Regions from separate parts of the Homo sapiens genome. Here all the other regions are linked to region 1. The links are contacts of gene promoters, found by promoter capture Hi-C in blood cells and fetal thymus (Javierre and others, 2016). All regions are on one chromosome and are shown on one strand. The core of a region is centred on a gene start or on the middle of the fragment in contact, and the rest is flanking DNA. Distances in the headings are between cores, read along the strand shown. Region 1 holds the start of NMRK1 (nicotinamide riboside kinase 1). Region 2 overlaps SMC5-DT (SMC5 divergent transcript). Region 3 overlaps KLF9 (KLF transcription factor 9). Region 4 has its middle 14 kb from the start of CEMIP2. Region 5 has its middle 49 kb from the start of CEMIP2. Region 6 overlaps C9orf85 (chromosome 9 open reading frame 85).

The links. Contacts are between HindIII fragments. The CHiCAGO score rates a contact against its expected background, and 5 or more counts as called.
Region 2: a contact is called between a fragment that was not itself captured here and the fragment with the promoter of NMRK1 in region 1, in 1 of 17 cell types (total B cells). The highest score is 6.2, in total B cells.
Region 3: a fragment that was not itself captured here is called in contact with the fragment with the promoter of NMRK1 in region 1 in 1 of 17 cell types (total B cells); the score reaches 8.1 in total B cells.
Region 4: a fragment that was not itself captured here is called in contact with the fragment with the promoter of NMRK1 in region 1 in 1 of 17 cell types (total B cells); the score reaches 5.3 in total B cells.
Region 5: a contact is called between a fragment that was not itself captured here and the fragment with the promoter of NMRK1 in region 1, in 1 of 17 cell types (non-activated CD4 T cells). The highest score is 5.2, in non-activated CD4 T cells.
Region 6: a contact is called between a fragment that was not itself captured here and the fragment with the promoter of NMRK1 in region 1, in 1 of 17 cell types (M0 macrophages). The highest score is 5.7, in M0 macrophages.

What each region holds. Positions count from the first base shown.
Region 1 is chr9:75,086,905-75,091,729 of GRCh38, reverse strand. It overlaps NMRK1 (nicotinamide riboside kinase 1), which reads left to right and starts at 3,575. Exons shown (of 9, transcript NM_017881.3): 1 at 3,575-3,722. It overlaps OSTF1 (osteoclast stimulating factor 1), which reads right to left and starts at 3,216. Exons shown (of 10, transcript NM_012383.5): 1 at 3,004-3,216. The coding sequence starts at 3,037. RefSeq lists silencers at 2,826-2,915, 3,106-3,705. The HindIII fragment of the contact is 4,153 bases long and covers 1,291-4,825 here.
Region 2 is chr9:70,253,510-70,258,334 of GRCh38, reverse strand. It overlaps SMC5-DT (SMC5 divergent transcript), which reads left to right. Exons shown (of 4, transcript NR_039990.1): 2 at 400-420. Among named protein-coding and RNA genes, the nearest start is that of SMC5-DT, 3.0 kb to the left of the region's middle. The HindIII fragment of the contact is 844 bases long and covers 1,078-1,921 here.
Region 3 is chr9:70,403,133-70,407,957 of GRCh38, reverse strand. The region is part of intron 1 of KLF9 (KLF transcription factor 9); the gene reads left to right. It overlaps LOC124900273 (a long non-coding RNA gene), which reads left to right. Exons shown (of 2, transcript XR_007061576.1): 2 at 1-4,825. Among named protein-coding and RNA genes, the nearest start is that of KLF9-DT, 8.6 kb to the left of the region's middle. The HindIII fragment of the contact is 1,420 bases long and covers 1,762-3,181 here.
Region 4 is chr9:71,779,905-71,784,729 of GRCh38, reverse strand. No RefSeq gene overlaps it. Among named protein-coding and RNA genes, the nearest start is that of CEMIP2, 14 kb to the right of the region's middle. The HindIII fragment of the contact is 9,079 bases long and covers 1-4,825 here.
Region 5 is chr9:71,815,424-71,820,248 of GRCh38, reverse strand. No RefSeq gene overlaps it. Among named protein-coding and RNA genes, the nearest start is that of CEMIP2, 49 kb to the right of the region's middle. The HindIII fragment of the contact is 938 bases long and covers 2,464-3,401 here.
Region 6 is chr9:71,914,041-71,918,865 of GRCh38, reverse strand. The region is part of intron 1 of C9orf85 (chromosome 9 open reading frame 85); the gene reads right to left. Among named protein-coding and RNA genes, the nearest start is that of C9orf85, 4.8 kb to the right of the region's middle. The HindIII fragment of the contact is 236 bases long and covers 2,819-3,054 here.

The DNA of each region.
Region 1 (4,825 bases), core at 2,326-4,825:
TGCTTTATCTTTACTTTTTCCTCTCTCTCAGATCATGTGTATTTTTAGAAGTCCTTTTGGAATGAGGCAAGGTTTAAACAAACCAAAAAATTAAATACAACCCCAAAGCCCCCAATCCCATGCTGTCTTTGGAGATTTTTATCCATGCAGCTTGCCTGCAGGACAAGAAAGTAAAGCTCCACACCACTCTCCTTGCTGTCAACCAGGGGCTGACCTTTATGTGCATTTGTGACAAGAAAGTCTGTAGACCAGAGGCCCCTCCCTTTCGACTTCCTGACCACCAGCTCTAAAATACACATTTGACCGCCAGTGTGAATGGAGCACTATGACTTAAGGCAGAATAGCAAATGGTTAAGAGTGCAGACTTTGGCCAGGCACAGTGATCCCACACTTTGGGAAGCGAAGGAGGGTGGATCACAAGGTCAGGAGTTCAAGACCAGCCTGGATCCTGTCTCTACTAAAAATACAAAAAAAAAATTAGCCGGGCATGGTGGCGGGCTGCCTGTAATCCCAGCTGCTCGGGAGGCTGAGGCAGAGAATTGCTTGATCCCGAGAGGCGGAGGTTGCAGTGAGCCGAGATCGCGCCACTGCACTCCAGCCTGGGCAACAGAGCGAGAGTCTGTCTCAAAAAAAAAAAAAAAAAAAAAAGTGCAGACTTCAAAGCCAGACTACCTGGGTTTTAATACTGCCTGCTACATCCCCCACTCTAACTGTTGACTTTAGACAAGTTAAATAACATTTCTGCGCATCTTTATTTCCCCATCTGTGCAACAGGAACAATATAATGGTACTGATCTCATAAGATTGTTGAGAGCAGCAAATGTGTTAACACGTGTAAAGTGACTATACCATTGCCTAACACACAGTAAATGTGGGACAGTACTACGATAGGACATTTCTGTTTTTGTTTTTTGTACTCTGTTGAGACGGGGTCTTGCTATGTTGCCCAGGCTAGTCTCAAACTCCTAGCCTCAAGCAATCCTCCCACCTCAGCCTCATAAAGTGCTAGGATTACAGGCATGGCCCACTGCTCCTGGCCATCGCTTTTTTTTTTTCTTCAACTAAGCTAGCCCACACAAAGTTTCAACTCTGATTGGCAGTAATGTTTCTCACTGTAAATTACTAAACTGGCAAACCCATTTCTATGGTAACTTTGTGTCTGGATCTCATTTGTAAATTAATGTTGATTCAAAATTCCCTTTATCCTGAATCAAGGACCAGATAAAACAAATTAAAATAAAATAAAATGCAAAGTTCCCTCTAAACACCTGTCATGTTTAACCATAAGCTTTCTGATGTGAAGGAGAAAGGAGGTTCCTGGGAATGTATCCACAATTAGTAACAGGATGACCCTTAAACCCCCAAGTGTGAATGAACCCACATGTATACATTACTGTGTACACACACACACACACACACACACACACACACACACCTGTCAATGTCCCTCCATTTGCAATATAGACAGCATTTAATACGCATGAAGAGATTTTTAAAAAGGGCATTCTTTAACGTATTTCAACTGGCAGCAGGTGATCAGAAAAAAATAAGATAAATAAAATATTGTTTAGCTATCAAAGAACAACTCTGCACTGTTAGATACTTAAGGTCCTGATTTGCACCTGAGTTTAGAAAGCTACCTCATACATATGCACTTAAAATGGAAATTTCTCATCAGATTCCACATCTAATGCAATGCAGAACCCAACTCTAGCTGTGCCCCATCTTTGCCCAGGGCAGAGCCAGTCTCAGCAACTTCCTTCACACTCAGCCCACCAAGATGTCAGTCCTCAGTGAAGCACTATTCCACATACGTACGTACATGATTATCAAATAAAGGGACTTCATACTCCAACTGCAGGAACGCAAAGAAACAAAACTAGATAAGTATGAAAGCTATAGAGTTTAGGAAAATCAAGGAAAAAAGTAATCACTGAAACTCATCTCTTGCAAAGAAAGTTACTTCAAAATTTGACGTAAATGGATTAAATTTCAGCATTTCGCTATACCGAAATTACACTATGGGAAGAAAAAACCCAAGAATACATCGGAGCCATTTATCTTCCATTTCCTGTATTTCCCTTAATTACCTACCCAAATGAATGCACGTAAGAGTTGTTAAAGTATTGAAATACGTCAGTCCTTTCTAATTACCTACCCAAATGAATGAGCGGAACAGTATGTTACAACTTTTAATTAAAATACGTCAGTTTCTTTTACAATTATCTTATTTCTGCATATCACAGAAAATATTCTAAGAACAGAGCAAAAATGAACAAGGACAATCCGCCCAGAAAACTGCTTTGAGGAATTTAGTAATCTCAGCCCTCTCAGGTTTAGCACGCCAACGTCTTTGGGAGAGCAAAGGCAAAGGAGATGATAAAATGACACTTCCAAATAGCAACAGCTGAGATCACTGCCGCATCCTAGATTCTTTCCACCAGGAGCGCGAGTATAGGGTTTTTTTCTAAACGCTCTTCCCAAGATCCCGAGGTCAATTTCAAACGCTGCTCCACGCTTAAGTCCCGAGGGAGGCTCGCTCGCCCACCCCACCCTGCAGGGATTGCACTTCCCGTTCGCTCTGGCCGGTCAGGAACCCTAACTTGACAGTGACAAACACTGAGAAAAGAGGAAGTGGCTAAAGATCATTTCATGACATTTTTTAAAGGGAGATCAATGGCCCTGTCTTTCCGGAAAACTTCCATGGGACGTTGCCATCACACCCTCTGAAAGTTTCAGCGAATGACAACGTAGCAAAAGTGAGGGCTACTCCCCTTTAAATATATATATATATATTAATCCTCGAAATCCTCTTGCTATCAAAATCGATCCCTCCTCCGTAACAGCGAACGCAAAACTAAGAGCGCCCATCCCGGTGGGGCCGATCTCGGAAGCCAGGCTCGGGGCCGGGTGCGCGCCGGGTCCTCCCTGCCAAGCTGCAGAGGAGGCGCCGGCACCGCGGCGGTCGCAGGACCTGGCAAGCGCCTACCTTACCTCCCTCACCTGGTTTGACTGGTTTGGGTGGCGGCTTCGACATCTCGCTTCCTGGAGCTGCAAATCCTAAAGACCCCGCCGAAAAGCCCACCGCTTGCCCGCCACCTGGCACTCCGGGCACCCCAGTTCTTTTTGTCTGGCTTACAACCGTGCGCCTCCTAGGACCGGCGCCCACCCTTGGCTGCGGGAAGAGCGGACGCAGGCAGAGCGGCTCCGCCGAGTGCTCCGCCCCGCCCCGCGGCCGCCGGAGCAGTCCAGAGCGCGCGCCGGGCCGACGAGGAAGTGGACCCCGCCTAGCCGAGCGCTAATTGGCTCCCGGGCTGGCAGCTTCGCCGCAGCAGGAGCGCGGGCGGCGCGCACGGCGGCGGAACCAGCCGGAGCCGAGCGAGGGCGAAGCGGGCGTGCGCCAGTGCAGTGCCGCGGGCCGCGCGCGCTCCCGATAGGGAAGGGCCGGAGCTGCGCAGGGGCGCGCGGAAGAGGCCAAGCTAGCCGGAGCCCCGCCCCGCCCCGCCCCGCCCCAACGGGGGCTGGAACCCGGCGCCGAGAGTAGAGAAAAGGGGCCTCTGGTGACCGCCCCTACCTGGCATCCCTCTAACCCAGGAGGAGCGTGGGGAAAGGGGCTGTGGGCCTCTCGGGGAGCGAGCTGCGGGTAGCGGCGCACTGGGTACAGGCGCGCGCTTGGCTGTCGCCTCTGCCGCTGTGTTTGGGAGGACTCGAACTGGCGCCAGGTGAGTGCGTACCTGCTCGCCCCTGCCGCGCCGCGCCGCCTTGCTGGGGCCTGGAGGTGTTTCCAGAGGGTTTCTGTGCTGGAGCCCGGGACTTGGTTGCGCCCTGAAAGCCTTGCCTGGACTCTTGCCACCCTCACAGAGCTGATAGGTGGCCTGCCGAGGAGGACGTGTACTCATGGTGGCGTGGTGCTCTAGCGCCCCGGAATAATCCTGAAAATGGGAACGCTGCCTCCAAGAGACCGCGCAGCCTGGAGAAGTCGCCAGGGACAGGATCAGGACTTGATCCTCGCGGATCGATATGGTCTCATTCCTCTAGCGTTGGGGTGATGACCTACTGCCCGCCTGCTGCCTGTTACTGTAAGGCCTGCTAAGAATTTTTTTTTTTTTTACTTTTTTTAATGACTGAAAAGAAATAAAAAGAAATATAATACTTTGTGACACGTGAAAATTACATGAAATTACGATTTCAGTGTCCGTAAAATTTTACTGGAACACGGTCACGCTCATTTGCATCTGTGTTTTCTGTGGCCGCTTTCGCATTACCCAGCAGGGTTGAGTAGCAGCTGGCAAAGCCCAAAGCATTTCCTGTCTGGCACTTTACAGAAAAAGTTTTCCTACCCCTGATCTATCGGATTGAATCTTCGGTGGGAGGAAAGAACTGGAGCACACAAGGAAGCCAATGGCATAAGTTCAAAATAACAGTCAATATTGTAAATTAATTGTATATTTGGGGAAAGAAAAAACTGTTTACCTAAGAACCTACATAAATGAAACCAATGGGGGAGGGGCATGAATTGCGTTTTCAAAAACCCCAGCCCTTCACGTCTGTAATCCCAGCACTTTGGGAGGGCAAGGCGGGTGGATCACGAGGTCAAGAGATCAAGACCATCTTGGCCAACCTGGTGAAACCCGATCTCTACTAAAACTGCAAAAAATTAGCCGGGCGTGGTGGCAGACGCCTGTAGTCCCAGCTACTCGGGAGGCTGGGGCAGGAGAATCACTTGAACCCAGAAGGCGGAGGTTGCAGTAAGCCGAGATTGCGCCACTGCACTCCAGCCTGGCAACAGAGCGAGACTCTGTCTTAAAAAAAAAAAAAAAACCCA
Region 2 (4,825 bases), core at 250-2,749, 4.8 Mb after region 1:
AGGTTTCTAGAAATCCCTGAGCTGGAATGCGCTGCCTTCATTAAGAGGGTGTTCTGCTTCCGTCTGCTCACATTCATCTAGTAAGCCCTCTCGTTAAAGAGGAGGCAGCACACCGAGGCCTGTCTAGAACTTCTTTCATTTAACCAACAGTGAATATCTAATCTACAAGAAACTGGAGCCGTGGCAGTTTAGGAGCCTGCCAAGGTTGCATCCCTGGGAGCTTATTTTCTATTGTGGGAGACAGGAAAAGAACAAGTGAATCAACTGTGAAATTAAATAATTCAAACTTAAAGCTGTTGGAACTTTAAATTATTCTGAGCCTTGCGAAGAATGTGGCGATGGGGCCTGAGTCCCATGGCATACAGCTGCAATGTCTGCCTTGTTTTTTCCTATAATCAGGAAGACCAAACAGAGACAGAGGTAAGACCCCCTCAGATCACTACCCCCTTCATAAATTAATATAGTTATCTTCCTTGGAATGTAGCTATCTATAACTAATCTAATCGCTGTAATTTATGCACTGCTCTTGTATTGAAAATGTACTCCTGCTGAACCTTCTCTGTTTCTGCCTGTGTAAATGAAACCTTAACTTCACTTTGGAACATTGACCCTATTTGTTTGGAGTTGGTGTTTCCAGGTGGCTGTCCTCAAGCTTTGCGTTAGAATAAACTCTATACTTAATGATATTTTCTGAATTTCACTACTTAAGGCTGACACAACAAATGATTAGCATAATGTCAGACTGTGACAGGTGTTAGGAAGAAAACAAAATGAACCTGATGGGTGGGAGGTACGGAAGGCCTCTTAGAGAGGTGGTGGTGTTTAAGATAAACTCTGAAGGACGAGAAGAAACTGTGACGATCTGAGAAAAGAGCACCCCAGGCAAAAGAATTTTGCTGGAACATACCAGTAAGGACAAAAGCTCTGAGGTGGGAAGGCCAGTGTTGCTGCAGAGCAGTGAACAAGGTTGCAGAGCAGAACCTTGTCCATCGTGGAAAAGCCTGAATTTTATTTTTAAAGCAATGGGAAGCCATTGCAAAGTTTTAAGCAGGAGAGGGCCATGTTCTGACTAAAGCTTTTAATTTTTTTATTTGATTTTTTTTATTTGATTTTTTTGAGACAGAGTCTCACCCAGTCGCCCAGGCTGGAGTGCAGTAGTGCCACCTCAGTTCACTGCAAACTCTGCCTCCCTCGTTCAAGCGGTTCTTCTGCCTCAGCCTCCCGAGTAGCTGGGATTACAGGTGCATGCCACCACACCTGGCTAATTTTTGTATTTTTAGTAGAGACGAGGTTTCACCATTTTGGCCAGGCTGGTCTGTAACTCCTGACCTCAAGTGATCCGCCCACCTCGGTGTCCCGAAGTGCTGGCACTACAGGCATGAGCCACTGTGCCTGGCCTTAAAGTTTTTAAATAATAATTCTGGTTGCTGTGTGGAAAATGGATTAGAGGGCACCAAGTGTGGAAGTGGAAGGCCACTTAGAAAGCTATTGCAGTAGATCCCTGATTCCTGACTCCTAGACCAAAGCTCCTTTCCCAGGTCTCTGCTGCTTCCTCTCACACAAGGACTCCGCTCCAGAGAAAATAGAGTAAGTAAAAAGCATGTGAACTTGTCGTAGTTACTGGAAATTTTCTTAAATGCAAATGAAAATGAGAGAGACGGGAAGGAAAAATCATTGAAAAAATTCAGACTGCAGCAGCAGCCTACCTGAAAAGTCACAGCAACAGGCAAAAAATAAAACAACCTTGGGAAAACCTCAGGTTGCACCTGGACAGATAGACAGCTTTAAGCACAGATAAACAAGCACAGGAGTGGGAGAGTCTCGACTTCATACTCATACAATGGGCCCCAGTAAAAACTGTGAGACTTAATAAGTACATTCCTTTCCGTTTAGGCCCACTAAGATACGGAAGCGAGAAGCTTATACAGGGAGGGTTGGGGGATGCCTGCAGCTGCAAGAAAATGTCTGGGAACAGACACAGAAACTTAAGCGACACAAAGCAGCACAGAGCAGCATAAACTAAAAGCCTGCTTATGTGATCAAGGAATTGGGTAAAGGCTGTTAGGAACTCTGCTCTATGCCGATAGCACACCTGGTCCCAACTAAATCTTCAGGCCCTGGGAAGATAAGACACCCCTCCTCACTAGTCCATTTATAAAAACCCTGACGTTTTTACTACAACTTGGCAGTCCAGTCAGACTCCCCTCTCTAATGCAGAGAGCTTCTTTTCTTTCTTTCACTTATTAAACTTTTGCTCCAACCCCACCTTTGTGTCCACGTTCCTTAATTTTCTTGGACGTGAGGACAAAGAACCCAGGGTACTAGTTCAGACAATGAGAAACTGCTACGTTAAGGTGCGTTGGTGAGACTGCAACAAAAATAAAGAATAATTTTTAAACTGTTCAAATGGCGGTGAGTAACGAAAAAACTCAGTGCTCAGGAGGGCACAATACTGTCCTTCCCTGAGTTGCTAGCATGAATTTTTTGAAAAGTAAAGGCTCTGCTTCAAGAGCTGTAGAAAAGTCAGATTGTTTGATGAAGTTACTACATTTAGGGGAATCTACCCTGATGAACAAATAAGAATTATAGACATTAGTAATGGGAGCTGAGGGCAGGGAGCTAGTCATCATTTTTGTACAATGATCAGTCCTTTTTTTTCTTCCCTTTTTTGGCAATCAATAGCAACATTTATTTCCTAGATCCCCCAGGAGAGGGGTAAGGAGCCAAGAAACCCCACATTATAAGACTTGGAGCCTCTGAAGTAGCTGTGTGAATAGCATGATTAAATAATTTCAGATTTTCTGTGTCTTCTTGAGTCAGTTTTAATAGGTTGTGCTTTTCAAGTAATTTGTCCTTTTCATCTAAGTTGTCAAACTTATTACATGAAGTTATGTGTTAATATCCATTAACGTTTGCAGCATCTATAGTGATGCTTCCTCTTTCTCACTTGATACTGGTAAATTGTTCATTTCTTCCTCTCATTTATTAATCTAGTAGAGGTTACGTATGTTTTATTAATCTTTTTAAAGGAACAACTTGATTTTTGCTTTTGTTGACTTTTGATTTCATAATTTCTACTTATCTTCGTAATTAACTTTCTGTTAAAGTTTAATTTGTTCTTTCCCCTCCAGCTTTTTAAAATTTGTTCTTTCCTCCTCAGCTTTTTAAAAATTATTTTTTGAATATATATATATTTGTACATATTAATGGGGTACATGTGCAATTTTGTTACATGCGTATGATATGTAATGATTAAGTTAGGGTATTTATAATGTCTATGTGATGGGTCCCTTTCAAGTCTTCCAGCTATTTTGAAAAATACAATAGATAATTGTTAACTATAGTCACTCTACTGTGCTATCAAACATTAGAATGTATTCCTTCTATGTGATTAGTCTTTAGTGAACTAATCAAATTGTGTTTCTAAACTTGAAATTTTAGAATGAGTCCCTGAACTTGTGATGACTTCACAAATGTAGACACTCTACAAGTTTTAAACAGCTACTCAGTCATGCTGTAACACCATCCTTTTAAAAAGGAAATGTTACTGGTTTTAGCTGTGATTACCATAGCAACACATGTTAAATGCAGAAAATTTGGGAAAACACACAGAAAAACAAACACATGCAAAGGAAAAACTTATAATTCCTCTACCCAGACTAATTGTTAAAATTTTGGTGTATGTTTTGGCATCTTTTTTTCTTGTATACTTGTACATATGGTCTGTGCCTTTTGTTTTAAAAAAGGATGATTCTGCACAAATTGTTCTATAGATACCATATTTACCCCTGTCCCCCACTTAATATATTATGAATAACTTTCCATGCCATAATTTTTTTTGTGATATAGTTTTTTTTTCTGTGATATAGTTTTAAGTAATCACATAGTATTCCATTAAACAAATGTACCATTCTTGATTTAAATAGTTCTCATTTGTTGGATTCTGTATAACTGGAAGTTAGCATAACCAAAGATTCTCTGGCAAACTATACTAGCTCAGTGCTTTTTAACACTTTGAAAATTTCATGCACCTATCAGAGTATACACATTATCTTGCCACATCTCGATTATTTAATTCCACTTTTGCAAACCATCTTGAAAGAGGTGATTTTAAAAAGGCAGAGGGAGATTTTTGGAAATAGAATATCAACCTGAATTTGATGCTAATTAATGAGTGAGCCACAATAGAGCCGATGCTACTTATCAGCTTAGTCAGACATCAGCTAATAGACATGGCAAAGCAATTGTATTTAACTTTCTACTGACCAAGGAGTAAGTAACCAGGGCCATTTTGAGTGACAGCCTTCCAATTCTGCAGGAACTTTAAAAACTGACAAATAAAAAGTTGACAGAAATGGGCAGGGTCAAGGATTATGCATGTATTTCACCTCACTATCACAATACACTGTTTTAATTTGGGTTGGTCTGCTCTAAGAAAATACCATAGACTGTGTGGCTTATAAAAATAGAAATTTATTTCTAGCAGTTCTAGAGCTTGAGAGGTGGGAGATCAAGGAACCAGCAGATTTGGTGTGTGGTGAGGGCTTACATCCTCATAGACAGTGCCTTCTCACTGTGTCCTCCCATGGTGGAGAGGAAGAACTCATCTCTGTAGCCTCTTGTAAGGGCACTGATCCTATTTATGGGGGCTCTGCCCTCATGACCTAATCACTTCCCAAAGCCCCCACCTCCTAATACCATCATAATGGGGGTTAAGTTTCAACATATAAATTTTGAAGGGATGCAAACATTTAGACCATAACAACTATCTTCTGTGTTCTCTTTTTTGGCTTTACTCCAAGCTTTTGATAATGGTGCCACAAGA
Region 3 (4,825 bases), core at 1,222-3,721, 4.7 Mb after region 1:
ATGATACTGCCTCACCCCACTCAGCAATAGGAGTGATATCAAGTATCCTGTTAGGGAAGAATAACAATCTATGCAAAAGGCTGCATACACATGGCTTCTAGCTATAGAGGATGGGTTTCTAAGGCTGCAAGGGTTTGCTATAGGGTTTGTTTCTGGGTTTTAGACAAGAGGGTAAAACTCCCTTGAATCAAGTGAAAGATGCCCAGACTGTTCTTCAGCCCCCAGCCCAAGCTCTCTGCAGAAATCTGACCCTGGGGCTGGAGGCTGTTAGGACCCTATAGCTCTTATTGCTAGTCACAAGGTAGGAGCCACCCAGTTGCCTTTCTTTCCTCATTTCCCATTTGTCCTGTGTCATCCTCCATCTATCTGCCCTAGCAAAGACAGTCGGGGGGCCTCTGAGAATCTTCTGCTGGCAAGATTACAGTTTCACGATAGAAAACATAAGTGGAGTCAAATTACAGAGTACGCACACTGTTTCCCTTGATTTTCCTCTCACATCTTCTGTGCGTGGTGAGAAGAGAGAGGGGAGGGGTATAAGTGGGTTCCTGGGTGAGAGAGGGAGGTACCAGAGTAAATACAGTGCCACTTGGATGGTGACACCCCATTACCTTCAGACACAAAGATGTAAGCTGAGGGAAATGAATTCTTGGATTCAGGGAAATGAATTCTTGGATTCTGAACATGAGGGTCAGATTTACATTCCTGTCTCAATTGTTGACGCTTATCCCAAGGACTAGTCATTCTGCAACATCTGTGGGAAATTCCCAGATTGAACTTCCCAGGGAGAAACATCATATGACATATTGGGAAAATGGCTGACAATGGTTTTCCTTAGTAAGTTCATTGAGAAGAAAAGTGGGCGGATGATTTCCCAGTCTTCACTCTTTCAGAAGCCCCTAAAACAATCTGACATGCTCTAGTTGGAGCCTGCTTTCTATCCCATCAGTTTGATTTCTGAATGCCTTATGATCATTAGCATTCTTCATTAAAAAAAAAAAAAGCTTTGTCGCATTTGTTAGTCTTGACTTCCAAATCTTCCGTGTTCTTTTTTTTTTTTTCTCTCTCTCTCTCTCTTTCCCTTTGGCTGTTCTCAGGCTTGGAGAAAAAGCTTGTAGCATGCCATTCCTTCCTCCACTGCTAGAATCCTCCCCCACATCCGACCCTCCCACCTTTTCCTAATGTTTCTCCAGCAAGCCCAGCGCCCACTGAAGAGCGTAAATTAGTGCCTAGTAATTGGTACAAAGGCACTTTCTGTTTCTATGCAACACACGCAGAAAGGAGGGGCAAAAGGAAGACGAAGAAAAAAACCCCACAGATGGTTAAAAAGGGAAAGAAGTGAGATCCTCTTTCAGTGGTCTTTGAGCAATCCTGGCTCTCTTTCTCCGCCCCACTTTTTGTTGAAAGTTAGTCACAGGCCTAGGCCTAACTCAGAGCACTTGGTGGCAGCAGTTGTTAGTATCAAAAGAATAGCACTTGGAGGTTGGAAGTGACCTTGGGAGGTCATCACATCCATCATTTTGTCTTTAAGAAAGCACATCCCCACCCTTTCTCAGAGAGATGGGGATTGTTCTCTTGAAATGTTTTGGGGGGACTTGAAGGGCTTTGAAGCACACCACCAGGTTTCAAAAGCTGCCTATCTGCCTTGACTAGCATGTGAGTGGTCATACTGTGTAATCTCCCAGAGCCTCACCAGCTCATGAGGGTACTAGGTAGTTGGAAGCATTTGTCAGCAGAAAATGCTAAAGCCCCTAGCTTCAAGCTTGGCTCTGCGGGTGCCTAGGAATTTTTCCTTCATTTTGAATTCTTTGCAGTACTTTCATTTGAATTCTTTCCCCCCACTTGCTCTCCTGGGACTTCAGTCTATGGTTAACATTTTTCTTTTTCACCTTAGTTTAAAGGGCTGCTTCATGGAATTAACCAAGTGAAAGGGCAGAGGTGGAGTGAGCTGGGGTGGCCTATGCCCTTTTTATGGGAGCAGCACTCTCTTTAACAGCCCAAGGCAGAGCTGCTGAGAGGTTTCCTACCACTCCCTACCTGGAATCGTCCTGAAACTTTAATACCTTTTTGATGCATTAAGGCCACGAGTAAACATTTGTTTTATCCCAGTGTCAAGCAGTCCCCTCAGCAAATAATAGGACTAACATTATTATTCATAAGAATGTGATCCCCCCTGAGGGAGTGAGAAGCACCCATTTTTTTTTTAAATACATGGGACCTTCCAAGGCCATTCATTGCCATGTGTGTCCAAAGCCTTTTTGATGGTGTGCCCGAAGCCTTCTCTTTTAATCTCAGTTTCTAGTGTGGTATAATTGACTTTGGAATCCTGAGATGAGAATTGAAGAACCTGGATCTGAAATCTAAAGGTTCTAGAGCTGAGAGAACCAGTTTGCTCACGATCTAAGCCAGAGCTGCTGCTGCTGGGCCTTTGAATTTGTTTATTTTTTAATGAAACTGAGAATGATCACAAATTTGAACAGGAGAAAGGAATCTAGGAGAATTTGAACAGGAGAAAGGCCAATCCTTAACTGGCCAGATTGAGTCTTTTTAAAAAGTGAGGACATTTATTTAAATAGATTAAAGTAAGAGACGGGAGCTTAAGCCATACAAAATTAGTGACAAGGATTTGAAATGCAGTCAGTGGTGTTATGTATTCAATGAAGTTTGAACATTTTTCCAAGCTGAGCCTCCGTCCTTGTGGAAGGGAGTATCTCCCAAAGGGCCTGACTTGAACCAAAGTGGGAACCAGTGGAATAGGCAATGGTCAAAAACACAAAAGTCTCTCTTGGGAGTTTTGGACATTTTAGAACCGGGAGCAAAATTACAGATCATCTTGGCCCAAAGAAATAGAGGGAGAAGAAAATGTTTCACCATCTCTGTCTTCCAGAGAGCTAGCTTTCATAAGACAGGCAGTTAGAAATGAAGAGTAAGGCCTGACCTATTTCATATTGAACAGTCAAACTGAGGAACTGGAATGTGAGGGGGCCTTTACCTTCAGTACAGAGACAGTAGATAGAGTCGTCAGAGCACAGGCTTTTGGGTCCTTCTGACATGGGTTTTTGAATCCTGTCTCCACCATTCTATTTATGACAACTCAGGCTCTACTTACCTTCTCTGAGCCTCAGGTTTCTCATCTGTAAAATGGAGCTCAGTAATTATATATTTATGAAGTTGTTATGAAGCTTAATTCAGATGAGGTGTTTAAATCATTTAGCACACCATTATAATTAAAAATAAAGAATTTATGTGTGTGTTCCAGAAGCCCTTGATTCCTAGAATTTTTGTTTAGAATTCCAGATTAGTCCAGCACTGCCTCATTCACTTCAATTATTTATTATTATTATTATTATGATTTTGAGACTGAGTCTCACTCTGTCACCGAGGCTGGAGTGCAGTGGCATGAAGGATCTTGGCTCACTGCAACCTCTGCACTCTCCCCGCCTACTTCCCCCTACCCCCTACTCAAGCAATCCTCCCACCTCAGCCTCCCAAGTAACTGGGACCACAGATGCACACCATTTTTTGTAGAGGCTGGGTTTCACTATGTTGCCCAGGCTGGTCTCAAACTCCTGAGCTCAAACCATTTGCCTGCCTCAGCCTCCCAGAGTGTTAGGATTACAGGCATGAGCCACTGCACCCAGCCATCTCATTCACTTAAATTATTTATTGAGTGACTTACATGCAAAAAGCTGTGTAAAATGCTGGTACCAGGCACTTTGGATTTTGTGGCTAATAGTGATAATAATGACAATTTCTAACATTTATTATATGTCAGGTTCCAAGCTAAATGGTTTACATGCATTGTCACATTTAAACTCACAGCAATCCTGTGAGATAGAAAGGTGCTGTTCTTCTCATTTAATAGGAGGAATCAGACTGGGAGTTAGTTAACGTAGTTCAAGGTTACACTGGAATTTTCCTAGTCTGTCTCTAGGTGGGTGGAGTTGGGCATGAATGCTTGCTGATCTGGACCCCTTGAGTTTCCGCCAGTGGGAAGAGACCCTGTGTTTTACGTGGTTCTCTTGGGTTTGGTCCCAGAGCCACCAGTCTTCAGCTGTCTACTCTTGTTGTTCTGACTCTGGCTTATGGTTGGTTTTCATGAACCTCGGTTAGGAGTGTCAGCAGAAATCTTGGACTCTGACCATACCTACTCTGTATTTTCCATAGTTATCCAGAAGCTGCTTCCTTCCCATTGAAAAATAACCTGGTTGTGGGCCCAAAGCTGTATTAGTCAGGACAACAGAATCCAAACAGGGACTGGCTTAATAAAAAAAATGAAACTTTATTGGTTCAGGTTACAAACACATCTAGGGGTAGCTCTCATTTCGGTGTCTGTGGATACAGGCACTCAGTTTCTGCCTCTCCATGGCTCAGTTTTGCTGCCTTTTGCTACAGCCTCATTCATGGGGTTGGTGGGGGCTGTCTCCAAATAGTGGTGAGATGGCTGCCCGCAGTTCCAGACTCATATCCTGCCACTTAAGCAAACCCCAAGGAAAGACAGTTTTCCATTCCCAAAGATTCCAGCAAAAGTTCCAGGCTTTAAGCTCCATGACTAGTTCAGATTGTGTGCCCCATCCCTGAAATGAATCACTGTGGCACGACTGGGTCACATCCAATCTCTGGGTCTGGAGGTGTGGGGTCACCCTCCCTGGAACTACATATATCCAGAATGGGGAAGGAGTTGTTGCCAAAAGGAAATTTAATGTGTTATTTATTATCCAGAAGGGAACAAATGCCAGACAGGCAAAACCAACACCCATTCTCTCTGTCATCCCATTTAGTTAGTTATTTATTTTTATTTGTATTTTTTTGAGACAAAGTCTCGCCC
Region 4 (4,825 bases), core at 610-3,109, 3.3 Mb after region 1:
TGTGGATTAAAATTTCTTTTCTTTATATAACATCATTAATATTCCTAATATAGTTTGGATACTTGTCCCCTCCAAATCTCATGTTGAAATTTGATCCTCAATTTTGGATCATGGGGGTAGATCTCTCATGAAGGGCTTTCTGCCGCCCTCACGGTGGCAATGAGTGACTTTTCCCTCTATTAGTTCCTCTGAGATATGATTTCTAAAAAGAGCCTGGCACCTTCCTTCCCTCTCTCTTGCTCCCTGTCACCTTCCACCGTGAATGAAAACTGCCTGAGGTCCCCACCAGAAGCAGATGCTCAATGCCATGCTTCTTGTACAGCCTCTAGAAACATGAGCCAAATAAACCTCTTTTCTTAATAAATTACCCAGCCTCGGGTATTCTTTTATAGCAACCCAAAATGAACTAAGACAATAGCTAACAAGATTAACAATAATTCCTTAAAGCACCTGATTCCTTGTCCATATTGAAATTTCTTCATTTGATCCCAAATGTGTCTTCCATTGATCCACTCAGATAAAGATCCAGTCAAAGACTACATGTTGTACTTGATTATTGTGCATTTTAAGTCTCTCGTGGTCTGAAACAGTTCCCTTCCTTGCTCTGGCCTGTAACTATTTTCCTCTTTTGACCAGCAAATAATCTGTGGTGGCAGGGTGGAGAGGGTGTCAATACAAAGTTTGACTAAGGTTGAGTATATATAACATGGGCTAATCATACAAAAATATTTTACTTATTTATTTATTTATTTTTGAGACAGAGTCTCGCTCTGTCACCCAGGCTGCAGTGCAGTGGTGTGATCTTGGCTCACTGCAACCTCCACCTGCCAGGTTCTAGTGATTCTTGTGCCTCAGCCTCCCGAGTAGCTGGGATTACAGGCATGTGCCACTGCACCCAGCTGAAAAATCTTTTATTTAAACGCCACTGATGTTTGTCTTTCCTAGAAACAAACTGAATATGAACATGGAAGTCAGTATTATTTTTACTATTTTCTCCAGCAGAATGACTTTACCACTCTCAACTTGTGGTTAGCACGAGATATTACATCTAGATACTTCCGAAGGCAGAGGGGAGCAAGAGAAGAAAAGTCATATTAGGACCTAATAATCCTCTTGTTCCCCTCAAAATCCAAACCCCAAATCTAAATCGGTGATACCGACTTTTAAAAGCAAAGCTGCAAATAGGTGATGTGGGTCCCCTCTCCCTCCCCCACTCCAAACAACTTGAGCCTTGTGTAAGCAGCTGCCAGACCTGCCCCGGGGCAAGGAAGAGCATGCAGCAGGTCAGGACGGTATATGACATGCTGGCACAAACACCCGTTGTCCCACCTCCACCCTTTCCACCCTCCGTGCGTCAGCTCCCCTGCAGCACATGCCGTGAGCAACTGTGCTGCTGACAGTGTTATTTCCTGTCACGAAATGAAATGTGTAAATGAAAGTACAAAAGAATGGAGGGATGACTGGTGGCCCTGTCACACTGGTGACACCTAGGGCCTAGCTGTAGGAAACATGTCTGGCTGGCTGCCCCGCCTCCTCACGCCAGTGCTTTTCCCAGCCTGAGCATCTCCATCTCTCAGTGATATGCTGTCCAGGCTTGGAACATTCTGCTCCTTTGGCCACTCCAGGTGTGGGCATCTCTTGCCTCCTGTTTTACATTGGTTTTTCAGTCTGTCACAGTTGAATCCCTTTAGCTGTTCACACTGTACTGAGATTATGGGCCCATGGATCTCTGTGCTGGAAGGGATGTCATTGGCACCAGCACCCACCCAACAAATAGTGGAATGTCCTTGTCACTATTGCTTATATGCAGTTGGTGAAGTGGTTAAGAGCAAAGACACCCTTGGTTCACATTCCTGGCACCTACTGGCTATATAATCTTACACAAATTACTTAGTCGCTTTTAGTTTCCTCATTTGTAAAATGTGTGGATTGGCAGGATGAATATCTATCTGTAAAACACACACAGCAGTGCCTAGCTCATAGCAAGCATTCTATAAGTGTTGCTATTTGCATATACCTGTCCAATCTCTTCATAAACACATCCAGGGATGTGAAGCTCATGAAGCTACCTTTACAAGGAAGCAAGCTCATAAAACAAGACATTTAATCTTTGGTGAATTCCAACAATCAGATACAGCTCCTTATAGTGTGTGATTATTATAGGGAAAGAAGGAAATGTGTTGCCAAAAATATACTGGGCCTTGTGGAAGATTTTTGGCTACATTCTTGTCACCTTGTGGAATTATTTATTCCCATTTTATCAATTTGCATGTGGCAAAACTGAAGCACAGAGGATTTGGGAAATTTGTCCAGAGTCAAACAATGAGTAGATGGTTGAGTCAGGATTTGAACTTGGGCTTTTTAGACTCTAGCATCTTCAAATATTGGAAGATAGTAGTCATTTTCCAATGAGACTTTAGTTTTTCACAGTGGTTGGCACATAATAAGTTATCAAATGATAGATATTGTGATCTATTTGTTTGTTTTGTTTTTTGAGACAGGGTCTTGCTCTGTCACCCAGGCTGGAGTGCGGTGGCACTATCATGGCTTACTGTAGCCTCAACTTCCCAGGGTCAAGGGATCCTCCCACTTCAGCCTCCTGAGTAACTGGGACCACAGGCGTGTGCCACCACGTGAAGCAAATTCTCGTATTTTTTGTAGAGATGGGGTTTCACCATGTTGCACAGGCAGGCTGGTTTTGAACTTCGGGCGACCTGCCTCGGCCTTCCAAAGTGTTAGGATTACAGGCATGAGCCATCATGCCTGGCCATGACTGTTAGTTTCTATAATACTTTGTATGTTGTCAAGGCCCTTTTGAACCATCCCTTCCTGCATACAATATGCATTTATTCGAACCCTCCATCAGATGCTTGGCTTAGGCTCTTCTTGGTCATGGCCAGGATGGAGTGCTCCTGAAGCAGCCTGTTTCATTTTGGATAGCTCTTATAATTGGCTTTATTCATTTATTTATTCAATGAATATCTAATGAGAGCTGAGATCTCAGTATGTCAAGCACTGAGCTATACACTGGGGATACAATGGGAAATGAAAACAGCAAATTCTTCAAAAGAGTGAAACATATTTTGCATAGATTGATCTTCCACCTACTGCTATCACTTCTGCCCTCTGAAGCAACAGAAACAAAAGGTTAATTTGTGCTCCCCACAATAGCTCTTCATATATTTGAAGATGGTTTTTCAGTTTCCTGTGTGACTAAGATTTTTTTTCTCCAGGCTCTCCTTGTAACAGTAGTATTTTCTTTAATACTGCAGATGATCCAAAGATGATGAAAGAAAATAGGTCTTATTTACTTTTTCTGAGACTCTGTTTTCTTATCTGTGAAATGAGGATAATTATACCCAACAGATGATATTGTATTACTTGTCTGAAACAGAGTAAACATGTCTGTGCATTAGTGTGCATTAACAACATTAAATAACTTTAACTATGCAAACGTGTACTATGTATTCTTATAAATGGGTCAGATTGACTAATTTACTGCGTAACCACTCTGTGGGGGTAGGTAATGAATATTCTTATTTTACAGAGAAGACAATGAAAGCACAGAGAGGTTAAGTGACTTGTCCAAGGTCACACAGCTAGTAAGTAATACAGCTGAAACTGGATCGGAGACAGCATGGCTTGAGAACACTGGTTGAAAGTCATTTTTATACTAGAAGGGGCTGAATGAGGGAGAAGAGTCAAGTGTTCAAAAGGTAAAAGGTAAATTAAAGTCCAAACTTGGAGTCTCATCTTTCACCAGTGGTATGTATCAGCTACTATTTTAAATAATTACCTACAGTTTGAAATTCAGTCTCTCAGATTCACAGTCTGGATATCTGGCCTTAAATGGGGCTTCCTTGTTCCCTGTTTGCAGCATCCAGTCCATTTAGCTCCCGCCTCACATGTTCTGGCTCTCTTTATATCCCAATGTACAGTTATTGGCAGCAAATATTAGTTAGTATTTTTTCTCGACACATCATTTGTATGTTTCTTTCACTGCTTCAAGTCACAGCTTACAAACGTATCTTTTCACTTAAGTGTGGTTTTCTTGATATAGTTTGGTTTTTAGCTATTTACCACTCTAAATTTGTCTGCTAAACAGGGAAAGCATAGTTTCAACTTAAATCATAAACAAAGGGATAATTTTCTTTCTTTCTTTCTTTCTTTTTTTTTTTTTTTTTTTTTTGAGACAGAGTCTTGCTCTGTTGCCCAGGCTGGAGTGCAGTGGTGCGATCTTGGCTCACTGCAGCCTCTGCCTCCCGGGTTCAAGTGATTCTCCTGCCCCAGCCTCCTGAGTTGCTGGGATTACAGGCACACACCACCACACCTGGCTAATTTTTGTATTTTTAGTAGAGACGAGGTTTCACCATGTTAGCTAGGCTGGTCTCGAACTCCTGACCTCAAGTGATCCACCCACCTCGGTCTCCCAAAGTGCTGGGATTACAGGTGTGAGCCACCATGCCCAACTGATAATTTTCTTAATACATATAGAGCTTTTACAAATCAATGAGAAAAAGAACAACAGCTATACAGAAAAATGAGCAAAGAATATGAACAGATAGGTCATAGATAAGGAACTAGAAATGACTCTTGTAAATGTGAAGAGATTCCCTCAATTATTACTGGAGAAACACATGTTGAAGTTCTTATATCACTTTTTCCTATGACAAAGATAGATATTTGTCTATATTTATTTCTAGAGATGTATATATCTGATTATATTCACTCAGGTGAGGCAAGGAAAATAGATACTGTCGTATATTGCTCTTGGGAAAACACATTGGCATAACCTCTGTGGAAGACTGACAATCACCTATCAAAA
Region 5 (4,825 bases), core at 1,683-4,182, 3.3 Mb after region 1:
TTGTTCAAGTGGCTCATCCTATAGGAAATACTTTCTCCGGCTTATTTCTCTGTGCCTCCTTAAAATCAATCTATGATATGCCAAATATTAACAAGGAAAAAATTATCTCCGAAGAAGACACTGACAATTTTGCCTGTGCCCTCCTCAGTCAGAGGCAATGTGGGGTGTAGGGAGCATCGTAGAACTGTCAGCGAGTTAAGGGATAAACATGTTGAGATAGATTGGATTAAACAGCATTGTTCCAATTAATCATGCTGAATTTAGGGCCAGGAGACATTAGATTCTGCTCTTGATTTTGACATTTACATTCTCTGTGACCTTGAGCAGGCCATTTCACGTGTTTGGTTGCAGTTTTTTCATATGTAAAGGGCTACAACAGGACAAAATGAGTCCTAAGTTTCCTCCTGATTCTACAATCTTTGTTTCTGAAGTTATTTCAGTGCAGGCTTGAGTGCAGCGGCTCGATCCCTGCTTACTGCAACCACCTCCGGGTTCAAGCAATTCTCCTGCCTCAGCCTCCCAAGTAGCTGGGATTACAGGCGCGTGTCACCACGTCCGGCTAATTTTTTTGTATTTTTAGTAGAGATGAGGCTTCACTGTGTTAGCCAGGATGGTCTGTATCTCCTGACCTTGTGATCTGCCTGCCTTGGCCTCCCCAAGTGCTGGGATTACAGGTGTGAGCCACTGCGCCCGGCTCTGAAGTTGTTTCAAAAAAAAAAAAAAAAAAAAGAATTTTTAAGCTGCAGGTTTTCACAGTGGCTGGTCATCAAAATCTCTTTGGAGAGCTTTCAAAAATATGGATCTCTTTCTACTCTGTTCTGATTATTTGTGGATGCAGCCTTGGAAACTATTTTCATGAAGTTCTCCAGGTAATTTCTGTCCATTAGACAAATTTGGGAATCATTAATCCAAGCCACAAGGGGGCGCCCAGAAGATGCTGCTTTTCTTCTCAGTGATTTTTAAAATCCTTTTGAAAATTAAAATAGAAATAAAATTGATTTCCTATTTCCACATCTAATTTTGTTTTATCTCATTTGAAAGAAATGTCTGATTGAAAGCATCTCTTTGGTATTTTAGGTTTAATTATTTGCTGGGTGAGCTAAAGTTATATTAATATAATGTGTACATAATCGCCAGCATTATAGACATAAAATGACGTATTAAATGAATGTAATCTTCAGTATTTAAGCTAAAGTTGGAGGTTTGGAGCATGGCAAGCTATATCCTGATGTGAATGAAACTTAAATGTTCCAAATTTTCCAAGACAATTCCTTGACCCATGGCCCCACATGTCCCTTGATCTTTTTGGAGGAGCTTCTAGAAAGAGTAGGTTATACTTTTCGTCCCCAAAAATGACTCTATCATTTTTTTCCTCAAAACATGCATATTTATTTATTTGTTTATTTTGGGAGACAGAGGCTGAAGTAGAGGGGCATGATCTCCGCTCACTGCATCCTCCATCTTCTGGGTTCAAGTGATTCTCATGCCTCAGTCTCCAGAGTAGCTGGGATTACAGGTGCATGCCACCACGCCCAACTAATTTTTGTTCTTTTAGTAGGCACTGGGTTTCACCATGTTGGCCAGGCTGGTCTCAAACTCCTGACCTCAAGCTATCCGCCTGCCTCAGCCTCTCAAAGTGCTGTGATTACAGGCGTAAGCCACTGCGCCTGGCCAAAACACGTTTTTTAATTAAAAAAATTTTTTTTCTGTAAACATGTTTTGTTTAAATCATCTGTAAAATGAAGTTAATAAAAGAACAAACCTGTTAGGATTGTTTTGAGGATTAAATGGATTAATAGACCTAAAGTGTTAGGAACTGTGCCTAGCATATAATTAGCATTCAATAGATATAAACTATTCATATTTTTCTTACGTTGTATTTATTATTCTCTGTCTTGACAGGGTCTCCACCACTCAGTTACCCAGTCCCAAAACTCAGATTCCACTCTTTTTACCCCATCCCTCAGAGACCACATGCAATGGGCAAAACTTATTTCTCTCTTGAATGTACTCTCTCCTCTCCATTCCCACAGACATACCCTTCATTTGATTTCTCATTAGTTTAGTTCCAGGCCTCTGATATATATTCCTGAAGATCTCCCTACTCCCATAAGAGTGACTGTTCTAAAACACAAATCTGATCATGTTCTCCCGCTAATGAAATCACTTCAATGGCTGTATGCGATTTACTCTCAAAGGGTTCAAAAATTACATATATATATATGGAAAGAAAGAGAGGGGGAATGAAAAATGGGGCAAAATGTTAACAGTAGATAAATGGTACACAGGTATGTTGTATAATCTTTTTTATTGTGGCAACTTTTCTGTACGCTTATATTTATTTTCAAAACAAAGTTAAACAAACAAACAAAATGCTTCACTGGCTTTCCTCAGAATAATATCCAAAGCCCTTACCTACTTCTCTAGATTTATCTACTCTCTTTCCCCCTTGATGTTTAAGCTTCAGCCATAATACATGATTTTACTTCATTACCTGTGAGCTTGCTCTTTTCCAAATTGAAATGCTGTGGTCTTTCCAAGTTGTCTACCTGGAAAAGTCCTGTTTATACTTCAATACCCACAGCATAATCCCTTCTCTATGATACCTGTGTTATTGGACTGAATTAATCATCTGCCTCCCTACCCGGGTTCACTGTGTTCCTCATTTTGACTCTTCTCCCCTTTTATCACATTGTGTAATTCATCTATTTCTTCTTCTAATCTCAGAGTTCTCCAGAACAGAGGCCCCATGTCTTATTCACTGTTGCATCCCCAAAGGCTGAAATCCTGATTTCTGCCCGCTCGTGTTTGCAAGTTCATTTTTAGTTGCCAGCTGTGCTGGTTTCTCACCTTCTGCCATTTGAAGTGGCCACAATGGCACTCAGCTCGCGGCTGCTTCCTGTTGTTCCCAGCTGAGCCTTGGCTCCTAGCTACTCTCCCTATTTTTTTTATTTTTATTTGTTTCCCCATGTGAAGGAAGTGAGCCCGTATAGACGCAGAGCTGAAATCTAGTGATCATCATTCTTTGTTGTAAAGCTCACCCCCACCCTTGCCGCTCCAGTGACCTCCTTCCCTTTATTCTAATTCTGTGTTTTAGAGCCAGTTGCTTTACATCTAGGAAGTCTCAGTTTTCTCCTCTAGGAGAGTATGCTTGAGTCCAACATTCCTTGTTAGAGAGGATTTTTTTTTTTTGCTTATCCCTCTTGTTCAGACAGTGCATACAGTTCATTTGATCTAATTCTTCGTGCTAATTTGTCAAAGTTCATCAAACATTAACAGAAACTAACTAGTTATTTCCTTAGAGTTATGTAAGTCAAAGACCAGCGTGCTGCACTCTTGGCGAATGTGTGCCTTTTTGGATTATGTTTTCATTCTACAGATATTTTAGGAAAACGTAAGCTTAGCCCATTTCTAGCAATAAATGGCTTTTCTAAAAGTTCCAAGTTTTCATTGCTATCTTTCAAAAATATTTGTTTTGTGACTAAGAAATAAAGGGAGCCTCTAGAGAAGAAAAATATCAATATTGGTTATAAAACACATTCACTCTGAAATACCAATACCACTTCACTTGTGTGTGAACATAAGAAGTATGACTCTGAAATGAATGCTTCATGACAGCAAGGATCATGTCTTTCTTTCTTGTTCAACACCCTATGTCCAGTGCCTTGAACAGTTCCTGACCCATGGTAAGCGCTCAACAAATATTTGGTGGGTGCCTTAGTGAAGGAAGTCAGCGAACCTATTTGGGAGGATGTCATAGTTCAAGGAGCTTAAATATATTGAAGCAAGTGGAAAACAGGATCCTGAATAGCTTCTTTGGGCCCTGAAATTTGTCTTAAGAATACCACATGATGTTTCTGCTGTAGCTATAATGAAGATGTTCAGCCACGCCTGGTCAAGGTCATCTCATGGTGGGTCGTCTCTAAATGTTTCTGGAATGGAAAGTTGTAACAATATTTTTTGGTCACTTTGTGTTCCCACTGTTGTACGTTGCAGTATTTTGAGCCAGAGGTTTTCTGGAGTAGTTTTACTGTAATACGGGGCTGAGTTACTGACAGCCATCCCCTTTCTTACCTGCTTTTTACCAACACAGTACAGTTTCCTATACCTATCAGTGATAGGGAAATGATACAGCTGACATTAGTACACATGAGTAACCCAAAGTTGTTTTGTGTTAATCTTCCAGGTCATATGCTCTAACTTTACTCATGTTTTAAATGATTTGCTGTTATTTTCTTAAAGACCCATTTTATTTTCTCTTTGAGTTCATGTTCTTTTTCTTGGCAGCCATGTCTAGATATTCTTTTTTTTTTTTTTTTTTTTGAGGCAGGGTCTCACTCTGTCGCCCAGGATGGAGTGCAGTGGTGCAATCTTGGCTCATTGCAACCTCCACTTCCCGGGTTCAAGTAATTCTCTCTGCCTCAGCCTCCCGAGTAGCTGGGATTACAGGCACCTGCCACCAAGCTGAGCTAATTTTTGTATTTTTAGTAGGGATGGGGTTTCACCATGTTGGGCAGGCTAGTCTCAAACTCCTGGCCTCAAGTGATCTGCACACCTTGGCCTCCCAAAGTGCTGGGATTACAGGCATGAGCCACTGTGCCTGGATATATATATATATATATATATATATATATATATATATATTTTTTTTTTTTTTTGAGATGGAGTCTTGCTGTGTCTCCCAGGCTAGAGTGCAGTGTCACGATCTGCAACCTCTACCTCCCAGGTTCAAGCAATTCTCTGCCTCAGCCTCCTGAGTAGCTGGGATTACAGGCACCCGCCACCACACCCAGCAAATTTTTGTATTTTTACTAGAGACGGGGTT
Region 6 (4,825 bases), core at 1,687-4,186, 3.2 Mb after region 1:
TATTATTATTACATTGTAATATATAATGAAATAATTATACAACCATAATGTAGAATCATTGGGAGCCCTAGCTTTTTTCCTGCAACTAGACGGTCCCATCTGGGGGTGATGGGAGACAGTGACAGATCATCAGGCATTAGATTCTCATAAGGAGCACACGGCCTAAATCTCTCCCATGTGCAGTTCACAATAGGGTTCACACTCCTATGAGAATCTAATGCCAGAGCTGATCTGACAGGAGGCAGAACTCAGGTGGTAATGTGAGAGTTGGGGAGTGGCTGTAAATACAGATGAAGCTTAACTCACTCACCTGCAGTTCAACTCCTGCTGTGTGGCCCAGTTCCTGACAGGCCATGGACCGATGCGGGGGTCGGGGGCTGGGGACCCCTGCTCCACAGGGAGACAAACTCAAACATCATGACTAGAGTTTGCAGATAAAGACTTACAAAAAGGTAAAGATGAAAAGACAATTAGAATTATTGTGACTTGTGGTTAGCTGAGATATTCAATATCTGTTAGAATGTTAACTTGTTTTTATTTCTGAAGAATAAAATAGTTGTCTTTTAAAATAGGAACACTAATATAATTAGTGTTCCTTCAACTTTCCCAAAACAAAAGGCAAGCAAACAAAAACAGAACTTTAAAACATCTAGGTGGTTCATCAGTCCTTTGCCTGTAATACCTATTTTTTTTCCCTCCCTGTGGCCCAGGCTGGAGTGCAGTGGCACGATCTCAGCTCACTGCAACCTCTGCCTCCTGGGTTCAAGTGGTTCCCCTGCCTGAGCCTCCCAAATAGCTGGGATTACAGGCGGCCACCACCACGCCTGGCTAATTTTTGTATTTTTAGTAGAGACGAGGTTTTACCATGTTGGCCAGGCTGTTTGCAAACTCCTGACCTCAAGTGATCTGCCTGCCTTGGCCTCCCAAAGTGCTGTGATTACAGGCATGAGCCACTGTGCCCAGCCTTCTTGGTTTTCTTTGTTTGTTTGTTTGCCTATTTTTGACTGAGGTAAAATTTATATCAATGTCATGCATAGGCCTTAAACGTACAATTTAATGAGTTTTAATATATTTGCTCTTATAATCTTCACTGCTCCTGCCACTCCAGAAAGTTTTCTTGTGCCTTTCTGGTCTCTATAGATGGAATCACATAGTATGCTCTTTTGTATCTGGTTTGTTTCCCTCCACATTAGTGTTTCCAAGATTCATCTGCTTTGCTTGTATCAGTTTTTCTTTTTTTTAAAATAGCAGAGTAGTATTCCATTGCATGCCTCTGCCACAATCAGCTTATATATATTCTCCCGTTGATAGATATTTGGAGGTTTTCCCCATTTTTGACAACTGTGAATAAAGGTGTGTGTAAACACAGAATCCTGTTCTGCTGTATAAATGCAATCATAACTAATCTTAAACTTGACAGCTTTCTGCCTAAATCAGGAGCCAAGAAAATGGACTAAATTAGTATCTACTTTCACATTAACTCAGCAAAAGGAGCCTCTGCTACAGAGCCCAGGCTGATGAGATGAGATCCACCCCAACCAGCCCACATGTATGGCATGTGATACTCCAGGGGCCACACCTCATGAGGAAAGACTCTCCCTAGAACATTTCAAACAAGCAATGTTTAGTATTGGTGGCAATAAACCACACTCATTTCTGTTCTGACCCTAATCTGGTGTCACACTGCTTCCATTACACCCAAAAATACAGTACATATATTTTTTAAAATCACACATACACATGGAGGGCTTTTGATTTACTTGCCCTTTGAATTGTCCTCCCACAGATCCCATCCAACCAATGAAGAGGCATGTGCTAATTATGTAACTCTGGGCATGTCATTCACCTCTAAGCCCTAATTTCCCAATATGTAAAATGGGATCATTTTGCATCTATCTTAGGGTTACTTTGAAGATGAAATTATTATAGATAATGTATAGCAAGTATACATAGTGCCTAAACATAGTGCCTAATACACTTAAGTACACAAATATTAGCTATAACAGGTTGAGTATCCCTAATCCAAAAAATCTGAAATCTAAAACTTTTTGAGCACCTATATCATGTTCAAAGTAAATACCTGTTGGAACATTTTGGATTAAAGAGTCTAAACTGATATAATGTAAATATTCCAAAATCTGAAAAAATCTGAAATCCAGAACACTCTGGTCCTAAGCATTTCAGATAAATAATACTCAACTTGTATTAATAAAACTATATTTCCAAAATTATTTAGAGTACACCCATAGACTTCCATTTTCCATCTCCATCTCAAGATGAAGACTATAGTTTCCTAAAATTAGTGAGCTCCACAACAAATTAGTTCAATAGGTATTATGTAAATCAAAGCGTTCCATAGCCAAGCAAGTTTTGGTTGAATAATTTTTTAACTGCAAAACATTGATTTATTCCAATGTATACTACGACCCACCTCTAAAAGTGAGATCTAGTATACAGTATTTCCAAAGTGATTTGATCATGAAATTTTCTCCTGCCCTATGAAGAAGATACATGACCTTGGGGCTCTAAGAAATATATTTTGGGAAATGCTATTAAAAACAATACTGACTATATATATATTATTAATAGCATCCTCAAAAGGATGACAGATGCTCCTCCATTTAGTTTAATGTTACTCATCCTTCTGATTTTTGGGGAGCTTTCCTTAACCCTCCAAACATAATCAAGACTTCATGCTATTATAGATACTCTCAGGGCTCCCTAGACCGTTCTTTCATAGCTCTTACTGCTGTAGTATTAACATACTTGAAAGATTATTTGATTAATGCCTGTCACTTCTCCCACCAAATCACAAGCTTCAATTAAGACTGTGACTGTATATTTTGCTCAACCCTATACTTCCAATATCTAGCACAATGTTTGGTACCAGATAACACATGTGGAATACAGACAGGAATACCAGAATTTCACTGCGGCCTTTTTGGCATAGTGCAAAACTGAAAACAACTCAATGTTTATTAATAGGAAAGTAGTTAAATAAGCTAATCCACATTTGTGCTGTATAATATTACACAGCCATTTAAAAAATAAGCTTAATCTTTCTGTTCTGACACATCCACTTTACTGAATGAGAAGGGCAAAGATGTATTTTATTACATATGCACTGTATCATACAGACATATCTAGAAATGTACACATCAAAGTGTTAACAGTGACTATATCTGAACAGGACTAAAACTGGGAACAGAGACTTTCACTTTTATACAGTACCTTATATACTTCTCTATTGTTTCAGTATTCTTCAACAAGCATGCATTTCTTTTCTAATTAATTTTTTTAGGCTTTGATCAACTGCAGGGCCACATAAATTATTATGGGCTTTATTCTTAGTTCTTATTTTTATCCCTATTTCTTAAAAATATTTTTGTAGCTGGGTACGGTGGCTCACACCTGTAATCCCAGCACCTTGGGAGGCCAAGGTGGGCAGATCGCTTGAGGTCAGGAGTGACCAACCTGGCCAACATAGTGAAACCCCATCTCTACTAAAAATACAAAAATTAGCCAGGCATGGTTGTGTGCCCCTGAAATCCCAGCTACTTGGGAGGCTGAGACAAGAGAATCACTTGAACCCAGGAGGTGGAGGTTGTGGTGATCCATATCACGCCACTGCACTCCAGCCTGGGCGAGAGAGCGAGACTCTGTCTCAAAAAAAAAAAAAAAATAATAATAATAATTTTTGTAATGATCTCTGTAGCAATCCTCAGAGGAAAGTAAGACAAGAGATAGTACTAACCCAGTATCATAGATTAAAAGCTATAGGTAAATTGCCTGACATCATCAAGCAAAACAAATGACAGAACTGGGGCTAAGGAATGGCTCTTTTCTCTTAGTCCAGTGCTCTTTTCGTTGGACATCACTGCCTTTCCAGTAAGGGAAAGAAGGCTGCCTTGATCTGCTCAACATCTCAGTACTAAATGACTAGAAAAGATTTAAACCTATTCCCACTGCCGACCCTCTGAATCCCCATAAGTCATTTGAGGGTACCGGTGACCAATGGCCAGAGGGACCTCTTTTAAATAACCCCAGGGAAGAGGAGGTTACAAATCCCGGCGCAAGCCCCTTCACTGTCAGATAATTCCCTCATATTGAGCTGAAACCTATTTTTGTTACTTTGATTCCCTGGTCCAAGTTTGGCCATTTGAAATGGCACAAAATTTGAATATACTCTCCTTTTCTAGAGTATATTCAAGCATATAAAGAAAGCTATCATCTGTGTCCTTTTGAGAATGAGTGCTTTACCTATATTAACTTCCAATAAAACATCTGTAATTATCCAACTTCTAATTGCAGTGAGTCCTAACAAACTGCTTGGCAGAGGAGGAAAAGAAAAACTATCATGTAGGACCCCTACCAAATCATAAAGTATTTAATACAAGTAGTCAATTGTTACTACAGTCCTCTAAGGCAGGGGTGTCCAATCTTTTGGCTTCTCTGGGCCATACTGGAAGAATTGTCTTGGGCCACACATAAAATACACTAACACTAATGACAACTGATGAGCTTAAAAAAAAAAAAATCACAAAAAAATCTCATAATGTTTTAAGAAAATTTACGAATTTGTGTTGGGTTGCATTCAAAGACGCCCTGCACCATGTGTTGGACAAGCTTGCTTTATGGGGAGTTACAGAGAACCGTGCATTTTTTATCACTCCTTTGTTAGATGTCACCAGATCAAATAGCTTTCCAGTGTAAAGAACAGGCACAAAGTTAGGATCAGATGCTTCTGACAAAGTCTTGGCTTTAGATGGCTACTCATAGCAGATGCAAGAATCTGTTATGATCACAGACAATTATTAGCTATTCA